6 separate regions of the Homo sapiens genome follow, and regions 1, 2, 3, 5 and 6 are each linked to region 4. Evidence: promoter capture Hi-C in 16 types of primary human blood cells and fetal thymus (Javierre and others, 2016). All regions are on one chromosome and are shown on one strand. Each heading gives the region's core, a stretch centred on a gene start or on the middle of the fragment in contact. The rest is flanking DNA. Distances are from core to core; before and after follow the strand shown. Region 1 overlaps RAPH1 (Ras association (RalGDS/AF-6) and pleckstrin homology domains 1). Region 2 has its middle 9.5 kb from the start of CTLA4. Region 3 overlaps RAPH1 (Ras association (RalGDS/AF-6) and pleckstrin homology domains 1). Region 4 holds the start of CD28 (CD28 molecule). Region 5 overlaps RAPH1 (Ras association (RalGDS/AF-6) and pleckstrin homology domains 1). Region 6 overlaps RAPH1 (Ras association (RalGDS/AF-6) and pleckstrin homology domains 1).

Region 1 (4,639 bases), core at 1,951-4,450, 190 kb after region 4:
GAATGTCATTTTAGCATATTGTGGATATGAGGCCATTCATGTGAACCTTTTAGCTATGATGAAAAACAGGGCACTAAACTTGACACTGCCTGACCATTATTAGTTCTAGCCAATGTGGCAAGATTAGAATCGCTGTTATTTTGAAAATCCCCTTCTCTTTTTACACAGTATACCGTCAAACAGAACTTGCAATGGTTATGCATTGTTAATGGTTTCTTTATTGTACATTAGTTAAATTACAGATTTTTAAAGTTTTGCTTAAATTTTATTGAGAGGTTAACACAAAAGATAATTATAAGTAGCCTATAAAATATTTTTAATATATTATCTGAGACTGTGAATGTCAGTTTCTTCATTATAATGGATGGAGATGATACCCTCTACTTTCCTACTTTTCAAAACTGGAGTATTGTACCCCTAGGTCCCCTCAAAGTGTATGTACACATGCACACAGGGTTGGGGATTGGGAGGGAGAGATTGGGAATGCAAAACCACATAATAAATATGGCAGCATTATTCTGAAGCTTTAGTTTTACTTAGTTTTAAACACTTTTTCTATTCTAATTGGTATTATATGAAGCAGAATGTGGAATTGATGTGGATTTTCAAGATTGTTAAATGAAAAACAAATTTGGCCAGGTGCGGTGGCTCATGCCTGTAAGCCTAGCACTTTGGGAGGCTGAGGCGGGTGGATCATGAGGTCAGGAGATTGAGACCATCCTGGCTAACACGGTGAAACCTCGTCTCTACTAAAAATACAAAAAATTAGCTGCACGTGGTGGTGGGCGCCTGTAATTCCAGCTACTCGGGAGGCTGAGGCAGGAGAATGGCATGAACCCGGGAGGCAGAGCTTGCAGTGAGCCGAGATCACGCCACTGCACTCCAGCCTGGGCGACACAGCGAGACTCCGTCTTAAAAAAACAAAAAAACCCCACAAATTTTAGATGTGCGACATGCTGCCCACCCTGGGGGGATACTGCTCATTGTCTCACTGGTAGCCACCCTCTAAGCTTCCTGGAATCCATATTTTGTTGTACACTAAGTTGAATTTTATTCTCTCATAACCATGACCATATTAACTATTTAAACAAATGAATACACAGAGAGTAAAAACAAAAACAAAAACAAAAAAACCCTAAAAGTATTAAATTAGAAGTCAAAGCACCTCAGACAATTTCTAAACTCCTGAGACTTCATTTGAACTAGGGCAGAGCAGATAGCTGTGGCTGTCTTTGGACTGTGAAGGTGGGAAAGCTGGCTCCCTAAACTGCTCCCTCCCCTTAAGTAATAGAGTAAAGAGTAGCTGGCAGCAGATACCTTACTCCGGAATTAAGATTGGAGAGAGGGCCAGGTGTGGTGGCTCATGCCTGCAATCCCAGCACTTTGGGAGGCTGAGGCAGGTGATCACTTGAGGCCAGGAGTTTGAGACCAGCCTGCCCAACATGATGAAACCCTGTCTCTATTAAAAATACAAAAATTAGCTGGGTGTGGTGGTGTGCCTGTAATCCCAGCCACTCTGGAGGCTCAGGCAGGAGAATCACTTGAACCCGGGAGGTGGAGGCTGCAGTGAGCTGAGATCACACCACTGCACTCCAGCCTGGGCGACAGAGAGAGTCTCTGTATAATTTTTTTGATTTTTTTTTTTTTTTCTTGAGACTGAGTCTTGCTCTGTCTCCTGGGCTGTAGTGCAGTGGCGTGATCTCGGCTCACTGCAACCTCTACCTCCCAGGCTTAAGCAATTCTCCTGCCTCAGCCTCCCGAGTAGCTGGTATTATAGGCGCCTGCCACCACACCTGGCTAATTTTTGTATTTTTAGTAGAGACGGGGTTTCACCATGTTGGCCAGCTGGTCTCGAACTCCTGACCTCAAGTGATCTGCCCACCTCAGTCTCCCAAAGTGCTGGCATTATAGGTGTGAGCCACCGCGCCTGGCCTTTTTTTTTTTTTTTTTTTTTGAAATAGAGTCTCGGGCGGGGCATAATGTGGTGGATTGTAGTCCCAGCTACCTGGGAGGCTGAGGCAGGAGAATGGCATGAACCTGGGAGGTGGAGCTTGCAGTCTGCCGAGATCACACCACTGCACTTCAGCCTGGCCGACAGAGCGAGACTCTATCTCAAAAAAAAAAAAAAAAAAAAAGATTGAGAGAAAAGACTGATAAATAGGAAGAAATTGAGAGTGAAGTCAGTAATTAAATAGTAGAAATTCAGACAAAAATAGAATGGGGTTGGAGGAGTGGAGGAAATCTTTGGTATCAACTAGTTCATCTATTCCCCCCCCCATTTTTCTGCAGATTAAGAAAGTGAGGGCTAAGGATTTAAATGATTTAACTCAAAGTTCTAGCTAGTTAGTGGCAGAATTAAGACAAGAATTTCAAGTCTCCTGATTCCTTGTTTAGTCCTAGATAACTAGGGAGATCTGGCAAACTGTTTATTAAACTAACGTTTTCAATTGTGTAAGATAATGAAAGTCTGTTTTTACTCATTCACACTTAGGACATAAACATGAAAGATTTACCTATTTGAGATTTCTTATGGACCAGAATTTGTGTTAAAATGTTAAGGGATGGCCGGGCGCGGTGGCTCATGCCTGTAATCCCAGCACTTTGGGAGACCAAGGTGGGCGGATCACCAGGTCAGGAGATCCAGACCATCCTGGCTAACACAGTGAACCCTGTCTCTACTAAAAAATAACAAAAAATTAGCCAGGCATGGTGGCATGTGCCTGTAATCCCAGCTACTTGGGAGGCTGAGGCAAGGAGAATCGCTTGAACCTGGGAGGCGGAGGTGGCAGTGAGCTAAGATGGCACCACTGTACTCCAGCCTGGATGACAGAGCAAGACTCTGTCTCAAAAAAAAAAAAAAAAAAAGGTAAGGGATGTTTAGCATATGTTGTTTAAATACCCAACAAACTCATTCCAAAAATTTCAATAAGTTTTTTAGACTATTCTTGTCACCCAAGGCAATTTTTGACTGTTAAATTCTATCTTACTTCCATTTGTGTCTCATTAATGTCAGGAATAATGATCCATCTCTGGTTGGATTTCTTACTCCTGGTGGAATAAAATGTTGAGGCATACAAACATGGAGGGAGAATTTGTTTGTTTTTTGTTTTTTGGGTTTTTTTTTTTTTTTTGAGACAGAGTCTCACTCTGTCACCCAGGCTGGAGTGCAGTGGCACAATCTTGGTGTGCACCACCACACCCAGCTAATTTTTGTATTTTTAGTAGAGACAGGGTTTCGTCATGTTGGCCAGGCTGGGCTCCAACTTCTGACCTCAAGTGGTCCGCCTGCCTGGGCCTCCCAAAGTGTTGAGATTATAGGTGTGAGCCACCACCACCCCTGGCCCATATTCTGCTTAATTCTTTTTTGTTTTTTTTGGAACGGAGTCTCACTCTGTCACCAGGCTGGAGTGCATTGGTGCGATCTCGGCTCTCTGCAACCTCTGCCTCCTGAGTTCAAGCGATTCTCCTGCCTCAGCCTCCCGAGTAGCTGGGACTATAGGGGAACACCACCACACCCAGCTAATTTTTTTTGTATTTTCAGTAGAGACAGGGTTTTACCATATTGGCCAGGATGATCTCAATCTCTTGACCTTGTGATCCTCCCACCTCTGCCTCCCAAAGTGCTGGGATTACAGGCATGAGCCACCGTGCCTGGCCGATTCTTAAAGTCTCTTTTAGCGACTGTGTGGATTTTGGTTTTTCATATATAGGAATTGGGAGTAGCTTTTTAAAGGGATACTGAAAGAGAACTCACAGGTTAAAATGGGGAGACAGCAAAGACATGGGAAATGGAAATGTAAAGAAGGTAGAGAATTTTGGAATGAAACCCTGGAAGGGAAGAGGAAGGGAGATTAAAGAAATTGAGAGGACAAACATTGTGACAAATGTACCGATAATTATACTTTGAATAGATTCTTTGTTAAAACTAGTTTGAGTTGGGTTTCTGTCAGGTGCAAGAACCCTTACTAATAGTCATTTGTTAATTTTTACCAGAGAGTCATTAACGCAGCTATTGAATCAAATCATATGCCTTGAAATAACCTTATAGAAATACTATTAAAATACTCTTCTGAAGCTAAAGTGCATTGCAGAATTTTCTGATTTTTCCTAACCATTCTTCTATTGATAGGGAAATTAATTTTGGAATGTGTTGGTTTCTTTTGATTAATATTTCTTTAAACTAGAACCAGATAAATTGGCCACTTTTTTTTTTTTTTAAAGAAATGTACCTTTAGCTTTGAGTCATCTTAAATTAGAAATACTTGGCAGAAAAAAGTCGAAATTTGCATCAAGAAAGAATATATTTCTGTGGTAGTTGCTCTGGGGTGAAAAATGAGAACCATATGGTTTCTCTCTTTCCAGAGCTTGCAATCTAGTTGGGTGTGGAGGGTGATAAGGCAAGTGCACCAGTAACCACCACATAATACAAAGCTGATTAGCTATAAATGCCATAGAGGTACAGAGTTCATGGGCTTCTCAGAGGAAGTGGCATCTAACTCCTCTCTTGTTTAACTAGCACACACTTAAACTTTTAGTTTTTTTTAAATTGAGATATACATAATATTTACTCTTTTTTTAAATTTATTTTTTAATACAGACAGAGTCTCGCTATGTTGCCCAGTCTGGTTTCGAACTCCTG
Region 2 (4,421 bases), core at 202-2,701, 150 kb before region 4:
ATGGATAATGTTCTGTTATTATATTTTGAATTTTAGACATTATCATCTCTGATTGTCTGTCAATGTCCTTAGCTTCTCACTCCTAAAAGTAAAATTAAAGTTGGATTTTGTCTTTTTTCTTAATCCCTCAGCCCTGTTGTAACACAGCCAGCCACAAATAAATTTAAGTAAGTGGCTTTATCAAAAGCCAAAAATAGATGCTTTCAAAATAGGTAAGCTTCTTATTTTACAGATCAGGAAACTGATATTGAGAAGGCAATTGACTTGCCCAGGGTCTCATATTCAGATCTTATTCTTTCATTGTCAAGGAGAAATAAACAGAAAGGGAAGGGTAAATAGTCCCATATTTGACCCACGACACCCTCCCCACAATGTACCCCACCTGAATGGTACATTCAGGAGTGTACCTGATTTCTATTTAGAACGAGCTGAGATTACCCAGTACCATTTCCATTTTACAAAAGAAGAAACTTCACAAATCACTAATATTTTCTTGTCTTAGTGCAAGGAGAAGGAAATCTTGGACATGGACTACAAATCATCTTTAATGCTGAATGAACCACCCACCTACACCCCAAAACTTGCTAGCTATCTATAAAGAGTAACATTGGAAGTGCCAAACATTTGATGGAACCCATTTCTTCCATGATATTTGTGGCTGATATAATCTCAGCCTCGAGCATTTATTTCAGTTTCTTGGTTACAGAGACATTGCTTTCATATTTTGAGCTGTGTTATTTTGGGCCCTGCTGCGACTGCCACATTTCAATGATGCCAGGCCCTGACCCTCTTCATACTTCCAGTTCAGAGGAAATGGTTAAGCCCAAACCTTGAGCACAGAAAATATAGAAAAAGAGTACCTATACTGTTTACAGTGTGAGTGATAGCAGCTGTGATGCTGGAAAAGGGTGTGTTAGGTGACAAGAAATACAGGGTGTTTGCACAGTCTGTGGCAGGCACTGACTCCTAGAGCTAGAAGAAATGTTAGTGAGTTCTGCTGTCTCATTTTAAAGAGAGAATATGAAGGCCCAGGAAGGTGAAATGATTTACCCAAATCACCCACACAGTCTGCTGGTGGCAGAACCAAGATGAGAGTCCAAGGGCCCTTGACTCTAATGTGATTTTCTTCTCACTGCCTTTACCATCATTCACCATCTTCCCCAGAACCTCTTGAACTGGCATGGCTTCTGGCTCTAGTTTTCTGCCCAGTTTGCAACTTCAAACCCAGCCCCACCAAACTTCCTGCTAGGTCTTGGGTACCCACAAACACAAATCAGCAAATCATTTAAGTAAAAAAACATATACATATGGTCTCATAGCAGCATTAATCACAACAGCCAAAGTGGAAACATCCCAAGTGTCCATCAACTGATGAATGGATAAGCAAAATGTACTCTATCTACACCACGGAATATTATTCAGCCATAAAAAGGAATGAAGGTGCATGCTACAACATGGGTAAACTTTGAAAACATTATGCTGAGTGAAATAAGCCAGACACAAAAGGACACGTATTGTACGATTCCACTTATATGAAATATCTAGAATAAGCAAGTCTGTAGAGCCAGAAAGCAGATTATTGATTGCTAGGGAATGTGAGAGGGGAAAATGGGGAATGACTGCTTGGCGGTATGAGATTTCCTTTTCGGGTAATGAAAACGCTCTGGAGCAGCATAGTGGTAACTGTCACATGATGCTGTGAATATACGAAATGCCACTGAATTGTACACTTTGAAACGGTTAAAATCGTCGATTTTATGTTATATGCACTTTACAACACACACGCAAAAATACGGTCATATTGACAGATTCTATAGGCATTCACCGTCTCAGAAAGCACACCATTGGTCTTACAGTATTATTGGCCATGTTTTACTCTCCTCTGAATGTAATCTGGCCAAATCTGAATCCACGTTCCACTTCTTTCCAAGTGTCAAAAGAATGAACTGGTGGACACATCCTCCATGGGCTGAGGCAAGGAAGAAAGATTCTGGTTATTTCTCATAATCTGCAATTCTGATCCCACATCACACTGAACCATCACCAGCCAGAATCTGAGATATGGATCACTGGCTCTGCCCTCTGCTGGGCACAATTTTCTAACAGGTTACTCAGCTGTGGACTAACTAAATGAGATGGAGGGAAGCCATGTTAGAAAACTTTGGCCCAATGAACTGTATTATTCCGGTGTGCTTTAGGAGAATATGATTTAGAAGGAGCTGGTTACATTAAGTAGCTTTCCTTAGTAGACCCATTTCACAGATTATGTTCTAAGAGGAAAATCTCTGGCCCAACACTTCAGCCATAAGGAAGAAACTAAATAATTGTATTTACATGGTCACGTCAGAACCTGTTGAGGGTAATAAGAGTAATGCACTGTAATTAAAACCGAAGCTCTTTGGTTTTTGTCTGGCACACGCATAGAGCTCAGTTTCTGTATGCACCTAATAGGACCATGTCATGGCAATGACATTGTCTGCTTAGAAATCCATTGCTTATATTTTTGTTATTTCTCAACATTATTTAGATTCAGTCTGATCACATAAAGTTCTTGCCACATGCAAAGTTTGAACTTTGTAGTTCTGGACATTTCTGTTCCATCGGTTAAGAAATGCTGACAAGTAGAAAACACCAGAAACATGTGTTTCCTGTGCTCTTAAAATATAAGCAGGTCAAGAAGCTTCCATCAAATGCATCTCCTGCATTTCATCCTTTGGATAAAATAGACAATTGTGAGCATGAGAACAAGTAAGTTTATTTGGAATTTTAAGCTCACAAAAAAAAGCTAAAGGAAGTTATGATGTTTAAAAATTAAATGTTTGCCACTGGAATTTATTATCCTGATTTATAGGATAAATTCAGTAAGCAAGTTTATGATCATGTTGCCAAATAAATGCAATTCTTTTTCTCATCATTTGTAATCACTATTTCCGTTTGAGAAAATAAATCACTTCCAAATTATCTGAATCTCCCTCCAAATAACCAGGCTTTTTTTTTTAGTTTAACATCATAAAATGTCTATGTAAGTGAATGCCATTTGTATAACCTGATTTTACTCACTGATTTCACTATCTCCTGTAGCAAAGAAAAACTGAAAAAAATAAGTGAAATCCTTAAGATTTTTATTTTAAGAGAATGAGAGTAAAGAAGAAAATGAGAAGAATAAGAGAAATGACAAACAAATGAAACAAAGGAAGAAAGACAAAACAGAAACTTTAAATGAAGGATAATTTGCATGTATTCAAAGAAGCATCGATTCTGACCCATCTGACAGAATTAATCAGCAATAAGAGAACATTGGTTTTTATTGTGGGTGGAACTTTCCTAAAATTCCCAAAACCTCTTGATATCACAAAACCCCAAAAAAGTGCTCTGCTAGATGTTTTTATACAAAGAATGTACAGATAATGTCACTCTAGTACTAAATTTAGCAAATAAAATTGATTGATTGATAAGATTCATTGAATCTATTTTAGAGCCTTTAACTCAAATTTCTTCAGCATAAATGGTTTTTTGAAGTCGCAAACCTAAAAGGAAATTCTTACTTAGATTTAATCATGTTTCTGTTGACACTGAGTCAGATAACAACTTTTTAGAAATTTATAGCAGTTTGAGATGTTACCAAGATTCAATGCCTCAAATCGTGTCGTTCCTGCAGAGAGACCTCAATTTGAAGCTTTAAAGTTTGAAAACTCATCACAAAATGTACAAATTATTTCTTTAAAATATTTTCAATAAATTCTGTGTTAATCGATCCTACCCACTGTTTTCCAGCAAACATTTAGCCAAGCTAAAGGACATAAGAGGAAGATAAGAATTTCTCATGCTCTCTAATTCCAATTAATCACACTGGATTTAGTCATAGCATATGAAAAGTAAGAAAGGACACCTGTAAAATGCATAAAGTAGTTACCCAAGATTTAGGAGGTTTTAGTTATAGGCCTGGCTCTGATGCTGCCTAAATGTGAATTATTTCAGTTATATAATTGCATCAGAGTTTTTCTCACCTGAGAGATAAGAAGGCACTATTAGGAAGGATCTCTTACTTTCAACTCTCAACAATTTTTAATTAAAAGTGTATTTTCCCTTCATGATATATAAATTTTAAAATCAGATTAGAAAATCATATTTAGAGTATGATCTGCTTTGTAAAATTAAACCAAAAATATACGTAGAATTATATATAGTAACATCTTAGTGATGCTTACATAATTTTTACATAAAATTTTTATTTTCTTATTTTACCTATCTGTATTTTCCATTTTTATGAATGTATATGTGTTACTTTGTGGTTAGAAAAAAAGATATTACAAACAACAAAAATTAAGTCCTTTTAATGTTTACATAACACTAAGTATATGTCAGGTCATCAGAACTTTGGCATTCCGGTTTTTGGAGAAGTTGAAAGGAGATAAGAGATG
Region 3 (4,693 bases), core at 1,895-4,394, 230 kb after region 4:
ATTGCATGCAACTTTTCATTACTATTTTGTTTCATTACTGTTTTGTTTCACTTCATTGATCTTTTTCTCTTCCTGCATGGTAATGAGAACTGCCCGTTTCACCTCCTTTACCTATCATTTTCTTCCTTACTGCATTTTCACAGCATGCTATTTCTCTGAGATGTTCCAGCAAGCAGGCCAAGCGTCATATTGACTTCACAGAAGAACAGGCTGAGCTGACACCTGTAAGTTCTATAAACATGCCATGGCATGACTTAATGAAGAGGAATGCATTCATTAGACCTCCAAATGATGAAACCTTTTCATATAACTTCAGTTTTTCAAATAAAAATTAAACCAAACTTAATAAATTAGCAAAAACAAATAAGCAACTTTAGATATGGTACAACTGAATATTAATACTCCTGGTATGATTATGTAGGTGGTAGCATAATTGATATAGATGATTTTTGTATTAGAACCTGAAACAACATGCCTTCTTTATTCTGAAACTAAGGGCTTTTGTAAATTTCTTAAGATACTAACAAATTGAATTGTTCTTTACAGCAGAGCTACCAAATGGAATGATTCTTCTGCACTGATGCTTAACTGAAAGCCTAGTTTCTTTCTTAAAAAAATTTATTCTTTGGTCATTTTTTTTGCCATGCCATTTGCCATGGTTGGCAAATCTGGATGCTTCAGAGGTGTACTGTCCCATACGGTAGCCACTAGCCACGTGTGCCTATTAAATATTTAAAATGTGGTTAATCTGAATTGTGTGCTGTAAGGATAAAATACATACTGGACTTCAAAGACTTACTATGAAACAAAAATGTAAAAAAAATCTCGTGGCCGGGTGTGTTGGCTCATACCTGTAATCCCAGCACTTTGGGAGGCCGAGGTGGGCAGATTACTTGAGGCCAGGAGTTCAAGACCAGCCTGGCCAACATGACGAAACCCCATTTCTACTAAAAATACAAAAATTAGCCAGGCTTGGTGGCACATGCCTGTAATCCCAGCTACTCAGGAGGCTGAGGCAGAAGAATTGCTTGAACCCAAGAGGCGGAGGCTGCAGTGAGCCAAGATAACAGTGAGCCAAGATCACACCACTGTACTCCAGCCTGAGTGACGGAGCAAGACTTAAAAAAACAAAAACAACAAAATTTATTTGTATTTATTACTTGTTAAAATTTTGGATATTTTTGGTTAACTAAAATATATGAATATTTCAGTTTTTTCTTTTTATACTTTTTAAAATTAATGTGGCTAACAAAATTTTAAATTACCTTTGTGATGATTTCTAACACCATCTTTACTGTCCAAGTGAAATTTGTAAATAATATAACCTACTTACATACCTACTTTTTTATATGAATGTAATGCCCCAACACCTATGAAGGAGAAATAATGAAAAAGAAATTTATAATAAATAATATATCTGTTTTAGTATGTAAATGCTTAGCTGCCACTATTAAAAGACATAATGAAGTAGTCAAACCTTACACCTACCTATAATCAAGAACTTTGGGTTTAAGAGAAGTGAGATCAGAAGCCTTTTTTTTTTTTTTTTTATACAAGAAGTGTAGGAAAAAGAACAGAAATATGAGTGGACCCCAGAACTGAAACATGTTATAAGTGATAGCAGATAATGACATACTTGTATATACTATGAGAAAAAGGGAAATAATCTTAATTGAAGTAGGGATAATGTGCTGAGACAGTTTATAGGCAAGTAGAGAAAATGGGAGCATGTAAAATTCTTGCAAATGAGATAAGATTATTTATAATTGTAATGACAAAATAATTTCAGTGTTATAATGTGGGATGAGATGGTAGTAATAAAATCATTTGATATCTGATTTTTTTTACAGTGTAGATTTTTCATCATGCTATATATTTTATTTCTTTTTTTTTGAGACGGAGTCTCGCTCTGTCACCCAGGCTGGAGTGCAGTGGCGCGATCTTGGCTCACTGCAAGCTCCACCTCCCAGGTTCATGCCATTCTCCTGCCTCAGCCTCCCAAGTAGGTGAGACTACAGGCACCCGCCACCTCGCCCAGCTAATTTTTTGTATTTTTAATAGAGACGGGGTTTCACCATGTTAGCCAGGATGGTATTGATCTCCTGACCTTGTGATCCTCCCGCCTCGGCCTCCCAAGGTGCTGGGATTACAGGCATGAGTCACTGCGCCCGGCCATATTTTATTTCTTTAAGATGCAGTCTTGCTCTGTTGCTCAAGCTGTAGTACAGTGGTGCCATCTCGGCTCACTGCAATCTCTGCCTCCTGGGTTCAAACGATTCTCCCGCCTCAGCGTCCCAAGTAGCTGCGACTACAAGTGTGCTTCACCACACCTGGCTAATTTTTGTATTTTTAGTAGAGATGGCGTTTTGCCATGTTGGCCAGGCTGGTCTTGAACTCCTTGCCTCAGGTGATCCACCTGCCTCAGCCTCCCAAAGTGGTGGGATTACAGGCATGAGCCATCACTCCCGGCCTTCTGTGCTATGTATTTTAAATATGACAACAGTAGTATGAAATATTTTAAAACAATTTTTACTAATAACGTTAATTTCATGTTTTCACTAATTTAATATTATTTTGCTTTTAATTCTGTTCAAAGGAATTCCAAATATCTCCTATCATTTACTGGCATGTGACAGAGTGTACACTGCCAGTTGTGGTACTGGCAACTCTTACTTCAAGCTAGTTTTCCATTGGTGAAATTATTTTCCAACATTATGAACAGCTGTTTGTAAGCTCAGAACAAAAGAAAGTGCAGACTTCTTTCCATTTATTTTAGAGGGTAATAGCATCCTGGAAAATTCATTCAGTATTAAAATTATGCAAAAATACTTTTTAGATGTAAAATGAAATTAGATTCTAAGCTCAGATTGTTATAAGCAAGATTTCCCATCTCTGCGACTCTCCGTGTAAGGACATTTAACAATTGTGGAATGTGGGACTTTTGTTGTTACTGACATTGTACCATGCTTGCAAGGCATCTTGCATTTTCAACTTCCCAATAAATACCAGTAACTCTCCCTCTCCTCTTCATTGTGGCAGCCCAGAATGTCCTTAACATTTTCTGAAATTCCTGCTTGAGGACAGAGCTACCCTCTTTTGAGAACCACTGGTCTCAAATATCCCTTTGCCCTCTTTCTACCCTGCCACACTCCCTCACACTGCGACCCCAGCAGCCTCTTAATCATCCTCCAGGACTGTAGCTTTTTCAGAATTACTTTATTAAGCCGCTAATTTGGGGTTAGATACCCGTCTCCTTGCTCACCTACCACTTAACACACTGTTTTGTAGTTGCAAGTTGGTCTGCATCTCCCTATTTAGACTACATTCTGTGAGGCAAGGAATGCCCATCTTGGTCACCTTTGCATCTCTAATGCTGGCATGGTTCCACACTCAAAAGTTGGAGCCTAAAAAATGGTTGAATACATGAAGAGGAAAACAGAGAAATAAAATAAATCAATAAAATGGATTGAAAATAAGCCCTTGACTTTGTGTCTATAGTTGGTAAATAAAAGAAAATATAAGAAGGCCCTGTTTATATGAAGCTGTATGCATTTTTATTAACTCACAACATAAACCAAGACTGAAGCCTGATTGGATGCCATGCCCAAACCATAATTTTTTTTTAATTAAACGTTTAAAATATATTTCTAAACAGAATGGCCTTACTCAGTTACAGTAAGATCTCCATAGCAGAGCAACCCACAAAGACACAGCACTGATTTTTTTCCCCTGTAATCAAGGGTGAAAAATATACAACTTGTTTCTGAACCAAAACCACAATTTCTGCAGTTTAAAATGTTTCACTGATAATACGGCCCTGGTAGAAATTATGTAGTTTTAAAACTACATAATTTACTCTCCTTAGTCCTTCAGCTGTGCACCACTCTTCTCATCCCTCTTGCATCCTTCCAGTAACCAGTTTCACCCCACCCCTGCCCCTTTTTTCTGAAGAGCAAGGAATTCTAGGATCAGTGTTATGACTGGTACCAATTGGAAGAAGATACTTTATTTTTTGAGACAGGGTCTCGCTCTGTTGCCCAGGCTGGAATGCAGTGGCATAATCTTAGCTCACTGCAGCCTTAAGCTCCTGGGCTCAAGTGGTCCTCCTATCTGAGCCTCCTGAGTAGCTGGGATTACAGTTCAAGCCACCATGCCCAGTGGAGTTTGCTGCCTCGGGTTTCCACATGTTTGTTGTTTCTGCTAGTAACTAAATAGTGAATAGCTACGTAACCATCCATGCAGGATATAATTTATGATCATGTTTAACTATTGTTTGTGGTCTCATTTTTTGAATGTGGCATATTTTGGGACCACCAACCATAATGATTACCCTCTTTTTATTTTAAGCTATTTGAATATCTTAATATTTCAAAATGGACTTCTATTTCTGTGTCATTAATCAGATACAATTAAATATCATTGCCTCATACTTAACCAAATTATCAGTTTTTTGATGACTTGAAGTCTTGAGGTCATGAGTTTGAGAACTGATTAAATCTTGTGTTTTTAAGAATTAAATTTGAATTTGATGTTTGGAATTACATTTACCAAATCATAGTTTGTTTTGATGGCCTGAGGCAGATTTTATTTTTTTAAATTTGAAATATAATGATCTGAATATAGATAATCTACTCACTTGGAGATAATTTTTCTAAAAAAGTAACTTTTATAAGATAAATACAGTAAGTTTTCA
Region 4 (4,529 bases), core at 209-2,708:
AAAATAAGAAAGAAAATTGAGGATACTGGCTTTTCAATGTATCTTTCAGGGAAAAATAACTGTCCTTATTTAAGCATGACTGTTGACCCCTATCAGTCCAGTTTTTGAACCAAGCGGGGGCCTTTTTCTAACTCTGAGAACACGTTGAATGAGCATCTTACTCCAGCCCACCCAAGTAACAAATTCTTTCTGTTAGGAATTGTGCTTGTGATTTTCCGAAGTTAATTTAACCCTGGATTTACCTGAGTCCATGAAATTACAAATCACACCATGTTAGATGGAATAGCATAATAATCAACAACACCGGCACTGGAGTCAGACTAAGGTGGTTCAGACCCTGCCTCCTATAGCTGCCACCTGTACATCCTTGGGCAAATCCCTTAATGTGCCTACCCCTCAGTCTCTTCATCTGAAATGAAGTTAACTGTAATACCTACCTTCTAGTTACGAGAACTGTGTGCTGCTCAAAGTGCTAGATGTATTATCCTCCTCATCATCGTCATTGGGAACTTAAAGAATTTTAATCTAAGAAAATACATTTTGGCCGATTGTAAAAGAAAACTAATTTATTAATATTGGTGTTGTAGCAGCTTCTGTGGTGACTCCAGAATTCATGTTGGAACTCATTCAATTCAGGTAGATAGAGTAATTACAGTTCACATTTATCTTGAAGCCTGACTGAGCTAAGCCCTTCGCATGGATTATTTCATTTTACCTCACAATGACCTTGAGGTGAGGTTTATTATTATTCCCACTTTACAGTTAAGGAAACTGAGGTTTGGAGAGTTTAAATAATAGCTAAGCCTAAGCTTACCTAGTGAGAATTGGACCTGTGTTAGGAACATAGGCAACCTAAATTCAGAGCTTCCAGAGCCAATCTACTTACAGCAGCTTTCTTAAATTAAAAAAAAAAAGAAAGAAAGAAAGAAACGATACATAAATTAAAAATTATTGGCCGGGCATGGTAGCTCATGCCTGTAACCCTAGCACTTTGGGAGGCAGAGGCAGGTGGATTGCTTGAGCTCAGAAGTTTGAGACCAGCCTGGGCAACATAGTGAAACCCCATCTCAATTTAAAATAATAATAATAATAATAAATTCTTGGGACACTATCAACTAATAGCTAGAGAAACTAATAGCTTAGAAAATTTATTTCCAAGGGACTTTTGTTAAGATACTATATTGTAGTCTGAGAATCAATGATTTTCAAAATAACACATTGCCCTATTACAGCAAAACTACACTTCAAATGTTCAAATTTCACACATTGTTAGAAATTTAAAATAAACTAAGCCAATTGGAAGACCTCAAAAAATATTTACAGAAAGAAAGACATTAACATTGTTTACCTGTTACTTGAATTGAAGGGAATAAGTTGAGAGCCAAGAGCAGCCTGAGCATCTTTGTCCTGACGATGGGCTAGGGTTCCAGCCCCTCCTCCCCGAGGAACCCGAAGTGTGAGGGGAACTGAAAGACGCACCTGCCAAGGCCTGAGAGTCTCCGTCATCCACGGCCACCACCACCGCCACCATCCCCTTAGGGCACATGATCAAGGCACTCAAACCACAAGGCATCCTGACTGCAGCATTTCACACAGGATATAACGTTGTTTTGATGACTTTAGACTTTTACTTCTATTTTTAAAGACTTTTTTTTTGTCACTGAAAAATAGTCGGTCACTACATGATGGGCTTATGGGAATTATTCTTTATTGATGGATATCAAGAGTTGTGTAAAAGGGGTGCTTGAAATCCAGCAGAGATTAAAGGGGAGACAAAGTGTTCTTAAGAAGGAACAGGCCGGGTGCAGTGGCTCACGCCTGTAATGCCAGCAATTTGGGAGGCCAAAGTGGGTGGATCATTTGAGGCCAGGAGGTCAAGACGAGCCTGGCCAACATGGTGAAACCCCGTCTCCATTGAAAATACAAAAAATTAGCCAGGCATCATGGTGGGTACCTGTAATCCCAGCTACTAGGGAGGCTAAGGCAGGAGAATCGCTTGAACCCAGGAGGTGGAGGCTGCTATGAGCCGAGATCATGCCACTGCACTCCAGCCAGGGCAACAGAATGAGAAAAGAAAGACAGAAAGAAAGAGAGAAAGAAAAGAAAAGAAAAGAAAAGAAAAGAAGGAAAGAAGGAAGGAAGGGGAGAGAGAAAAAAGAAAGGAAGAAAGAAAGAGAGAGAAAGAGAAAGAAAGAAAGAAAGAAAAGAAAGAAAGAAAGAGAAAGAAAGAAAGAAAGAAAGAAAGAAAGAAAGAAAGAAAGAAAGAAAGAAAGAAAGATGGAAAGAAAGAAAGAGGGAGGGAGGGAAGGAAGGAAGGGGGAGAGAGAGAAAGAAAGAATAAAGTCTCTAGCAGAGGAGAGATTTTCATAGGATGGGGACAGGTTGTGTCAAAAAGATAATGGTAAGAATTCTACTGAGGAATTGGGAAACATCTGCATAAACGTTTAAAGGAGTTACAAATATTAGAAATGTAACATTTGTGTAGGACATAAGGTAGCCCTCTGGAGCATTTAGCACACAGTGCTTGATTTATGTCAAGCCTCCTCCAACTCACTTCTAGGAACTTTGCAAAACCCATTCTACGTGCAAGCAGCCAGCCAGCTGAGTATCTGGGGGAGGTTCCCTAAGCAAAGGGAAAGTCAAAACAACATTCTATGTTCTTAGTGGGACAGTAAGGCAACCAAAAGCCCCTTGGTGTCTCATGCTCTCTATGTCCCTCAAGGTTAAGTAATAGGGCACAAAAGGAGGCTCCGTGGCAGGATTTCTGAGATTCATAACCACCACCCGACTGCACCCTTCTTCAACTCCCAGGCCCTTTGCAGAGAGGGTTATTCCACCAGCACGGCCAACTGCTCTCTTCTTCCGGCACCTACGTCAGTATCTTGTACTCAATGACTTCTTCAAAACTTTTCCAGTAATTTTTTTCTTCTTTTTGATAATCTAAGCTTTGTGCAATTACTCTAGTTGGGGGTTTTGTGTATGTGGGTTGTTTTAAAAGATAACTTGTATTGCTTTTTATTCTGACTATAAAAGTAAGGCATATTTCATTGAGAATGTTTAGAAAAATTATAAGCATTAAAACAAGATTCATCCACATTCTTACCACCCTAATATAAACACTGCTAATATTCTGGTCCACTGCCTTCCACCTGTTGGTCTGTTAAGATTTTTACATGTTTAATATCATGTTTTACTTATAGTTTTCATCAGATATGTACTATTATTTGTTATATCTTGAACATTTTCCCATGTCATTTAAGTATCTTTATAAACATTATTTGTAATTGATGCATAATATTCCATTCTCTAATTATATCATAAATTGTTTAACAAACCCCTAGTGTTGTTACCTTTTTTTCTTCGCTATTTTAAAATGCTACAGTCAAACTCTTTGATGACCTAGCTGTAAGAGGAGGCAGGCTTCATGTCCCTCCCTCCTGATCTGATAAATGACAGATCAAAAGTATTTCCTGTCCTGGTAGACCTTCTTTGTTCACACTTCAATTTTCCCACAAACACAGTCTTTGTGAACCCCTCTTACTAACACATCTTTTGGTCCTTTGGAGAAATTTGTCCTTGGAAATGATTCACTCACACTTCTGAACTATAGGTAAGTGACAAAGCTATGCCCTGAGTCCTGGAGAAGATTCACTTCTAGAATTTGACACAGTCTTCCTGGCTCTGATCCTCTATCCAGTTAGGGGAACCCATGCCTTCCCCAGGGCCTGAAGTCTATCTGGGGGAAAATTTACAGATGGCAAGGTGACCTTTCCTAAAAGGTCATCCATATTCTAGAGCCACCAGCCTACCCAGATCTTAAAACAAGAGGCTCTGAGACTCATTATACATACTGAGAATATACACAGAAGAAACAAAGATACCCAGTAGTTTTCCATGATCAACAACAAAAGGCTAAGGAGTGAGTTAATAACTGTCTTCAAGCATATTAAAGATGACTACATAGCATCTAGTTAATACTATGTAAATAGTAGTAATCGGGTCAAACTTAGCTGAAAAAGAAACAGTTCACTCATCTGGCCTAATTCCCTTATCTTGCAGAGAAGGAAGCTGCAGCCCAGAGAGGTCAGCTCATTTATACGAATTCACAAAACAATAATTAAATATTATTGGCCTTATTATTTGATGAGCCATATTTAATTTTCTTTCCATAGAATAAAAAGAAACACAAACTTTGACATTTGCCTTCCTATGTTTTAACATGTATGACACTAAAGAAGCAAACCATTTCATTAGAATCCTTTCACATTTGCTTTTGAAATCCAATAGCATTCACATATACCAAGAGGTAGAAATGACAGAAATAAAATAAGGACCTTAAATCCGGCAATACACAGGATACTGAGACCCTACAACATTTTCAGTAAAAATAATAGCATTTCCATACTAAGAACTTTACATTCCAGATCTCATTTAATACACAACCTGTGAGGAAGATTATTATTATCTCCATTTTACAGATGAGAAAACTGGTCTGAAGTGGGGTTAAGAATTGTCAGAACAAAAGAATG
Region 5 (4,691 bases), core at 1,379-3,878, 250 kb after region 4:
ATACTAACTACGGTTAAGTAAAAATCTGCCTTGTAATTCCTAATTTTTCTGTACTTTGAGGAGAAAAATTAATTTAGGCCCAAATGTCCTATATTAGTGTTTTCTGAGGATTTCTCTTTTCTTTCACAAATACATGATTGATTTCTTTAATATTAGATTTTTATCAAAGCATAGTGTTTAGAACTTAGAATTTTGAGTGTTTATAGTCCTTTCAACCTAGTATTATTTTTTAAATAAATGCCCTCTTTGTCTTAGAGTCACATAAATGGATAGTTTTTAAATTCTTAAAGTTTAATCATACACTTAGCACGTTGCATTCTTTTAAAATATATTCCTGTTTAGTTTGACAGCTAATCTAAATGTAGAGAAAAAATAAAGTCTAACGCTTGGTTTGCCCTGACAGTTTTATTAAATTTAGTGTAACTGTGCTGTTTGCAAAGGTATTTAACTACTGTTACATGCAACTCAGTTCATGTGTCAACTTAGTTTTTCTCCGAAACAGTGTTTTAGTTAAAAGTTTGTAGGTAAAAATTCAGTATTACATGTATGACTGGCATTTTTATTTAATAAACATTTTAGGATTGCCATAGTAGTTCCAAATTCATATTGTGTTTAGAATAGAAAGTGTTTTGTCTTGTTTTTGTTTTTGTTTTTGTTTTTGTTTTTGTTTTGAGACAGAGTCTCGCTCTGTTGCCCAGGCTGGAGTGCAGTGGTGTGATCTCAGCTCACTGCAATCTCCGCCTCCCAGGTTCAAGCAATTTTTGTGCCTCAGCTGCCCACATAACTGGGACTACAGGCTCGCGCCACCATGCCTGGCTTTTTTTTTTTTTTTTAAGTAGAGACGTGGTTTCACTATGTTGGCCAGGCTGGTCTTGAACTCCTGACCTCAAGTGATCCACCCGCTTCCCAAAGTGCTGGGATTACAGGCATGAGCCACTACACCTGGCTGGAAAGTTCTAATTGAGGTTAAATTAGCAGCTTGGTTTTAATATAAAACCATTTTGGTTTAATAACTGTCATGCATTTCACAGGAGTAAACACAACTTTGTTCTGAGAATCCAACGATCATAAGTCTTTGCAAATAATCTTGTTATTTTAGGAATGTTTTTGTGGAAGTTCTGTAACTGTACCAGAAATTGAAGGAGTCCTTTGGTTGAAGGATGATGGCAAGAAGTCCTGGAAAAAGCGTTATTTTCTCTTGCGAGCATCTGGTATCTACTATGTTCCCAAAGGAAAAGCAAAGGTGTGTCCCTTCTGTTGGAATTTGAACTTCCTCATTATGCTAATTGCTTTTAATTTGTATTGAGTATGCTGACAAGGTGAACCCAGGCTATGATTTGTTTCAGTTCGTGGAAGACATAGAATATTGCTTTGTTTATTAATCTATTATAAAGAAGAAGAAACCTGAAAGTTCTTACTTCTCTGGTCACTAGTTGAGCCTATCTCAGTTCTCTTTACCAAATTTGAAATCATAGTTTTATTTGTTGTTTTTTGGGGACTCTTTCTGGAGTAGTTTTGTTTATTTTTGTTTGGGAAGAACAGCACAGCTCTCTGGGATTACAGGCTTTTTTATCTTGTTTGGGTAATATGCTTCTTCTGCTAAGGGCCACCCTGGTGTAGCTATCACTTCGGTGCTTATTGGCACCAGGACTGTTTTAAACTTTTTTACAGTATTATCTCATCTAGTCTTCACAATAGTCCTATGAGCATATATTGTTGCCCCTATTTAACTGGTGAAAACCTCCCCCCAACCAGTTGCGAATCACTATACTTTACATATGCATTATAGGCACTGAACGACTTGATATTTTCTTGTTCTTTCCAGAGAGCTCTATTATACATTATTGTTTTTAATGTACTAGACTATATTAATAGTATCTTTAAAATGCCAACACTCCTTAACAAGTTAGTGTTCATTGTGAATGACAAAACAGTAAGTAAAATGGGCTGCTTTTTTGTTACGTTAATGATTAAAGAAGAAACATTTATGGAGCATCTCATTGTCTCGTGTAAATAGCAATAATTTCTATTTAGTATTAGCAAAAGTAGTTTTGATTCTCACCTAGAAAATGTTAACCAGGTATATTTGCTTGTTTGTGCATTATTATTAATTTTATCTTTTTGGTGTTTTTATCTTAGGTCTCTCGGGATCTGGTGTGCTTTCTCCAGCTGGATCATGTCAACGTTTATTATGGCCAGGACTATCGGAACAAATACAAAGCACCTACAGACTATTGTCTGGTGCTGAAGGTAAACACATATTTCTTTTTAGGAATTTTAATTGATGTTAGACATAGAGCAGGTTATTGGATATTTTAGAACTGTTGAGATTCCATCAATTATACTGTTTTTGCTTTATTCTCAAAGTTTAAAAAGGAATGGTGAAGTGTGGTAAGGAAAAGAAGCATGTGCTATATCATAGCAGACCCTGGGCCAATTATCTCTAGGTAAGGAGTGAATATTAGATTGTAAGCTTTGAGTTGTGAGATATAAAATGTATTTGATTATAAATTTGAGATTCTCATTTAACACCAGGCTTATTTTAGGAAAACTTAGAACAGAGCCGAATGTAGGTCATAAATGTGCTTTAGTTCTTTTCCTGTACTTACTCAGCAAACCATCAGAGGGCACTGTGTCCAAGTTCAAATCAGACTGGCTGTTATCTGGTCCAGAAATAATTTTTGTCTCTTTTTTTCCCTGAACTATAGTCATGATAGCCCATGTATGTATTGTGACCTGAGCTGTTTTTAGGGAGGTTTTTTTTTCTTCTTTATTCAAGCTTTTGTACTTCTTGCAATGATTATATCTGTACTTCTGAGAAGAACGGACATTTTAAGCAAATTTATAGTGATCTATTAGAACACTGATAAAAACGACATACAAAAATTCAAGAAAATTAGGGAGATAATTTTTTTTTCATTGGCTCCATCTTTGTAATTTCTTGGTAACTACTTAGGTCTACATGTTCATATCATGTTTAATTTCACTTTTCTCTGAGAATTGTCACTTTAGTTTGGGGACTGCCATTAGTTTGGGAGTTTTAGGATTTTAGGATTTTGGAGTTTTGATTGCTTTGATAAAGTCAGTACATTGTAGTAGCAACCTTTTTTTTTTTTTTTTTTTTTTTTTTTTTTGAGGCAGGGTCTTGCTCTGTCACCCAGGCTGGAGTGCAGTGGCACAATCACAGCTCACTGTAGCCTCGACTTCTCAGGCTCCAGCGATATTCCCAGCTCAGTCTCCCAAGTAGCTGGGACTTGAGGTGCATGCCACCACACCCAGCTAATTTTTGTGTTTTTTTGTAGAGACAGGGTTTAGCCATATTGCCTAGGCTAGTCACAGATTCCTGGCCTCAAGCAATCTGCCTGCCTAGGCTTCCCAGAGTGCTAGGATTACAGGCAGAGCCACTGCTCCTGGCCATAATGGTAACCTTTTATTACATAATTGTGTTTTTGGGGAACACCACTGTATCATTTTAGGTACCTTTAGGTGCAAATAGTTTTTTAAAAGTCAGTACAAAGTAGCTTAATTCAGCAGTTTTCAAAATGAGGTCCACAGTCTCCTGAGAGTCAGTCCCTAAGACCATGATGTCAAAATTATTTAATAATGCTAAGATGTTATTTGCCTCTTGAACTTTCATTCTCTCACATATGTATAGTGGAGTTTTCTAAGAGGTTATATGACATGTGATGGTATCTTCACGCTAGTGTAATGTGTGTTTGTCTATTTATTTATTTATTTATTTTTGAGACAGTCTCACTCTGTCTCCCTGGCTGATGTGATCTCGGCTCACTGCAACCTCTGCCTCCCGGGTTCAAGTAGTTCTCATGCCTTAGCTTCCCGAGTAGCTGGGACTACAGCCACATGCCACCACACCCAGTTAATTTTTGTATTTTTAGGACAGATGAGGTTTTGCCATGTTGGTCAGACTGGCCTCAAGTGATCCGCCTGCCTCAGTCTGCTGAAGTGCTGGGATTATAGGCGTGAGCTACTGTGCCTGGCCTGGCCTGTGTATTCTTGTAGTTTAATTTTTTTCTTAGTTTTAATTTATAATGTAAGTATTGCTGGGGTGGAAAAACTTCACTTCATACTCTTAGGGTCCTAGCTGGGCACACAAATTAAATTGACATAAGAGATCAACAGGAGAAAAGCATAATTACTTGTATACTGGATTGGACAAAGAATAATTTGTGAAGAAGCAACTAAATTATATGTGAAGCCTTAAAGATACGAGTTATTTTAACAAGGTCTGTACAGAATTCTGTTGGTTTCAACTTCTCATCCCTGAGGAGAAAGATATTTTCGCTTTCTAGTATTGAGAAAGCATCTTTTGCATGGTAATTTCATCTTCTAAGGCTTTTAAGAAATAGCATGAAGGTCAGAGTGATCTTCTGTACCTGCTGTTTTTCAAGTGTCTTTTAACTTAGTCAATATGCCAGGGTGGTACATTTTTAACTCCTTCAATATCAGTAGACATAATCCACGTAAAAGAAAGTTATTGGGGGACTCTCATAACATGAAAACAGTAAAAGTTGGTTGGTTATTTCAGTGGCTCAAGGTTGTCAGTGAGAACTCAAATTCTTTCCATCTTTCCTTGTTCTACTTCCCGCATATCAGCTTATTCTCAGGCTGATTCACCTCACAGTCCCAAGATGGCTGCTGCAGTTCTATGCATCACATGTAGACCCAGAAAA
Region 6 (4,128 bases), core at 1,449-3,948, 210 kb after region 4:
ATATTTTCTGTTTTTCTTTTTTTTTTTCTTTTTTTTTTTTTTGAGACGGAGTCTTGCTCTTGTCATCCAGGCTGGAGTGCAGTGGCGCAATCTTGGCTCACCGCAAGCTCCGTCTCCGGGGTTCACGCCATTCTCCTGCCTCAGCCTCCCGAGTAGCTGGGACTACAGGCGCCCGCCACCACGCCCGGCTAATTTTTTGTATTTTTTAGTAGAGACGGGGTTTCACTGTGTTAGCCAGGATGGTCTCGATCTCCTGACCTCGTGATCTGCCCACCTCAGCCTCCCAAAGTGCTGGGATTACAGGCGTGAGCCACCATGCCTGGCCCCATGTAAATATTTTCTATGACATGATTGTAGAATACTGACAAAACCTAATTCTGGGCTGCATTTTAAAACAGTGGCAAAATCTTTTCATTTTGCTTTATTCGATCTTGGGTTTTTAAAGAAGGTGACCTTGTCCTCTAAACCAGCACACTTTTTAGAATAAAAGGGTACTGTTATTATTGCCCCAGTAATACATTATATTCACTGTGTGAAGATGGTTATGTTTATTAAATAAATTTAACTTCATGGCAATGAGAACATTAGAACAAAACTTATTTACTCATAAATAATGTCTTTGGAAAGAACATTTGTGTAAAATTGCGTAGGTATGAGATTCCTTAACTAAAGGAAAAGCAAAGTGGGCAAGGTGGAAGCTTAAATTACTAGCAGCTTATTTCTGCAGCAATCTAGAATTCAAAGTGATAAACTCTTCGTGTAATTCTTGCTAGATCATTTTGAAAGGCAGACATCTTTGTGACCATAATCTGTTAATACTGTATTTTGGGGGGATTTTTTTTTTTCTTTTTTCTTTTTTTTTTTTTTTTTTTTTTTTTTTGAGATAGAGTCTCACTCCTGTCGCCCAGGCTGGAGTGCAGTGGTGTGATCTCAGCTCAGTGCAACCACCGCCTCCCGGGTTCAAGCAATTCTCCTGTCTCAGCCTCCCAGGTAGCTGGGATTACAGGCATGCGCCACCATGCCCAGCTGGTTTTGTATTTTTATTAGAGACAGAGTTTCACCATGTTAGCCAAGCTGATCTTGAACTCCTGACCTAGGTAATCCACCTGCCTCGGCCTCTCAAACTGCTGGGATTACAGGTGGGAGCCACCACACCTGGCCAGGGGAGAATGTTTTCAACTCCTACTAGGATTTCATAGGTATCATTCCCTTCATCTCTAATCAGAAGAAGTGACATTTTTTGTCAGAGATGTCTTATGTCTGTAACTGCCAAATTCTTTCTGTTTTAATTCTTAATTTATAAAAAGGGTGATTTAAGCATAGAGATTATCACTAGGCTATGCAGTCCTGCTCTGGGAGAGAGAGGAAGCAAAGAAGAGCAAATAGAAAATGATAATGCATGGAGAAAAGTATGCAAGGGCCAGCTGACATGTGGGGTGTTCTTGACCATGTGGTTTTATTGTCCATGCTTGGGAGGAGGGGCCCAAAAGAGAAAAGGCAGGTAGATATTGGTCCAGCTGCTCTGGGTGAACTAGGAACTACATGATGCTGCCCTGAAAATGGTGTTTCTACTGGTTTGATACCTTGTACTTTCCCCTGTATTTTAAGTTGCCTGACATAAAAGTGTGAAGAGCCACTAATGACGTGACTGTTCTTTTCATTATATAAATCTGTCTTTAGAGAGAAAAAAAGATTAAAACTGTGGCATAGTGTGACTCACTGCTAATATGTTGCTTTGTAACACTTGGGACATTTTCAAGAGATGTTTGACTTTACAAAGTTTGTGGCTAAAACCTCAAGTTTCTTGTTTATTTCATTACTTTAGTTCATTACAGTGTTATCTGTACACCTGTATCACGTACTCAGTGGTATGGTATTTTCAACTTAGAATTAAAACAAGTTTAAGTTTTAGGTAGTTGGTCAATCTTCTAAAATAGTTTGTAAAGTTTTTTATGTATGTGCATTTTTCTGGAAGAGGGTTCATAGCTTTTATAAAATTCTCAGCAACCCCTTTAAAAAGGTTAAGAGTTCGTGTCTGGGCAACAGAGCATGACCTTGTCTCAAAAAAAAAAAAAAAGATAGCATTATAAACACATAGAGTATCCAGCATTCTTTTAAAATTTGAAGCTTGTTCAGTGCTTACTGTAGATATAAATTAAAGTTTTAAAACACTAATCCTTATATTTTGTGAATCTATTAAACAATAACTACTGACCCTTTCTCTGAATTTCTCTGTTGTAAATATCTTTTTTCCTTGCTCTAGAAAGGTTAGAGAGGAAGAGTATCATTTAAACTTACAAGTGTAACTTACAAGTCACCCTACCCAAAGTATACAGTATGATTCAAGATTTGTCACAGGCAGTGTAGCTGGGTTGCAATTTGCCCTCCTTTTGATAGAACTGGAGAAGGACAAGAATATTTCATCATTGTTTGAACTTGTAATCACTTTCCATTAAAATTAGTGAGTCTTGGGTCTTAATAATTTTAAATCCAGAACTGTCCGTTATCTTCAGAGTACTTCATATAGCAAAGATCGAGGCTTTCCTGGACCTAAACCAAATCCCTTTGAGGAAAGAAAGAACAGAACTCTCTGTGCGGTTTCTTTTTTTTTTTTTTTTGAGATTGAGTCTCGCTCTGTCGCCCAGGCTGGAGTGCAGTGGCGTGATCTCGGCTCACTGCAACCTCTGCCTCTCAGGCTTAAGCGATTCTCCTGCCTCAGCCTGCCAAGTAGCTGGGATTACAGGCGCCCGCCACTGTGCCCAGCTAATTTTTGTACTTTTAGTAGAGATGGGGTTTCGCCCCGTTGGCCAAGTTGGTCTCGAACTTCTGACCTCAGTTGATCCGCCTGCCTCTGCCTGCCAAAGTGCTGGGATTACAAAGTGAGCCATCACACCTATTTCTTAGCTTACCATGTCCATATTCACTTACCTCACTTATTTTATAGTGCATGTATATAAAATGAAGTCAGTCACTATACTTAATATATTTGAAAAGATATTTACTCTGAACTATGACAATCTCAAGTGCCTTTAAAAGTAAGCATAGGCCAGATATGGTGGCTCACGCCTGTAATCTCAACACTTAGGGAGATGGAGGTGGGCAGATCACTTGAGGCCAGAAGTTTGCAACCAGCCTGGCCAACATGGTGACACCCTGTCTCTACTAAAAATACAAAAATTAGCCGGGCATGGTGGCACATGCCTATGGTCCCAACTACTCGGGAGGATCCCTTGAACCCGGGAGGCGGAGGTTGCAGTGAGCCAAGCTTGTGGCACGGCACTTAAGCCTGGGTGACAGGACGAGACTTCATCTCCAAAAAAAAAAGTAAGCATATATCTAAAGATTGAAATAAGTATAACCAAAATAATAATGTCAAATACAATTATACTTTTCCTTAAGTCTATTACTTAGGAGAACTTTGGTTTAATTAATTATAGTGTGGCAGTTCACTTAATCATAAAACAAACTTCATCTTTTTTTATATTATTGAAACCTGAATTTAATATGACTATTAAACTTTCTTTTTATAAAGAGTTTGGATTCTGACAAGCCCATGGAACCAGTAAAAAGATCTCCTCTTCGCCAGGAAACAAACATGGCCAACTTTTCTTACCGCTTCTCCATATACAACTTGAATGGTAAGATGTAATTGGAAATAAAATGTAAAATAGTATGCTAAGTCACACAATGTAGGAGCAGTACAACTGCAATTCCCAATATAAAAACTCGATATAAAAGCTACATGCATAACTCGACCAAGTTCTTAAATTTCTTTTTTCTTTTCTTTTTTCTTTTTTTTTTTTTTTTGAGACAGAGTTTCGCTTTTGTCGCCCAGGCTGGAGTTCAGTGGCACAGTCTCGGCTCACTGCAACCTCTGCCTCCCAGGTTCAAGCGATTCTCCTGCCCCAGCCTCCCGAGTAGCTGGGATTACAGGCATGCACAACCACACTTGGCTAATTTTGTATTTTTTAAGTAGAGATAGGGTTTCACCACGTTGGCCAGGCTGGTCTCGAACTCCTGACCTCAGGTGATCCACCTGCCTCAGCCTCCCAAAGTGCTGGGATTACAGTCGTGAGCCACTGCGTCCAGCCCTTAAATTTCTTGATTTGTGTATTTTATTAATATTAC

Evidence for each region. Contacts are between HindIII fragments. The CHiCAGO score rates a contact against its expected background, and 5 or more counts as called.
Region 1: a fragment that was not itself captured here is called in contact with the fragment with the promoter of CD28 in region 4 in 5 of 17 cell types (activated CD4 T cells, total CD8 T cells, total CD4 T cells and 2 more); the score reaches 8.4 in activated CD4 T cells.
Region 2: a contact is called between a fragment that was not itself captured here and the fragment with the promoter of CD28 in region 4, in 1 of 17 cell types (activated CD4 T cells). The highest score is 5.2, in activated CD4 T cells.
Region 3: a fragment that was not itself captured here is called in contact with the fragment with the promoter of CD28 in region 4 in 1 of 17 cell types (total CD8 T cells); the score reaches 5.3 in total CD8 T cells.
Region 5: a fragment that was not itself captured here is called in contact with the fragment with the promoter of CD28 in region 4 in 1 of 17 cell types (activated CD4 T cells); the score reaches 5.7 in activated CD4 T cells.
Region 6: a fragment that was not itself captured here is called in contact with the fragment with the promoter of CD28 in region 4 in 6 of 17 cell types (total CD8 T cells, total CD4 T cells, activated CD4 T cells and 3 more); the score reaches 11.6 in total CD8 T cells.

The regions. Positions count from the first base shown.
Region 1 is chr2:203,510,848-203,515,486 of GRCh38, reverse strand. All of the region lies in intron 1 of RAPH1 (Ras association (RalGDS/AF-6) and pleckstrin homology domains 1), which reads left to right. Among named protein-coding and RNA genes, the nearest start is that of RAPH1, 22 kb to the left of the region's middle. The HindIII fragment of the contact is 4,375 bases long and covers 1,013-4,639 here.
Region 2 is chr2:203,856,026-203,860,446 of GRCh38, reverse strand. No RefSeq gene overlaps it. Among named protein-coding and RNA genes, the nearest start is that of CTLA4, 9.5 kb to the left of the region's middle. The HindIII fragment of the contact is 2,463 bases long and covers 220-2,682 here.
Region 3 is chr2:203,472,607-203,477,299 of GRCh38, reverse strand. All of the region lies in intron 4 of RAPH1 (Ras association (RalGDS/AF-6) and pleckstrin homology domains 1), which reads left to right. Among named protein-coding and RNA genes, the nearest start is that of RAPH1, 60 kb to the left of the region's middle. The HindIII fragment of the contact is 6,781 bases long and covers 1-4,693 here.
Region 4 is chr2:203,703,568-203,708,096 of GRCh38, reverse strand. It overlaps CD28 (CD28 molecule), which reads right to left and starts at 1,458. Exons shown (of 4, transcript NM_006139.4): 1 at 1,349-1,458. The coding sequence starts at 1,400. RefSeq lists an enhancer at 1,429-1,578. The HindIII fragment of the contact is 2,136 bases long and covers 812-2,947 here.
Region 5 is chr2:203,451,989-203,456,679 of GRCh38, reverse strand. It overlaps RAPH1 (Ras association (RalGDS/AF-6) and pleckstrin homology domains 1), which reads left to right. Exons shown (of 14, transcript NM_213589.3): 9 at 1,100-1,243; 10 at 2,140-2,250. Among named protein-coding and RNA genes, the nearest start is that of RAPH1, 81 kb to the left of the region's middle. The HindIII fragment of the contact is 306 bases long and covers 2,476-2,781 here.
Region 6 is chr2:203,490,724-203,494,851 of GRCh38, reverse strand. It overlaps RAPH1 (Ras association (RalGDS/AF-6) and pleckstrin homology domains 1), which reads left to right. Exons shown (of 14, transcript NM_213589.3): 3 at 3,533-3,638. Among named protein-coding and RNA genes, the nearest start is that of RAPH1, 43 kb to the left of the region's middle. The HindIII fragment of the contact is 1,138 bases long and covers 2,130-3,267 here.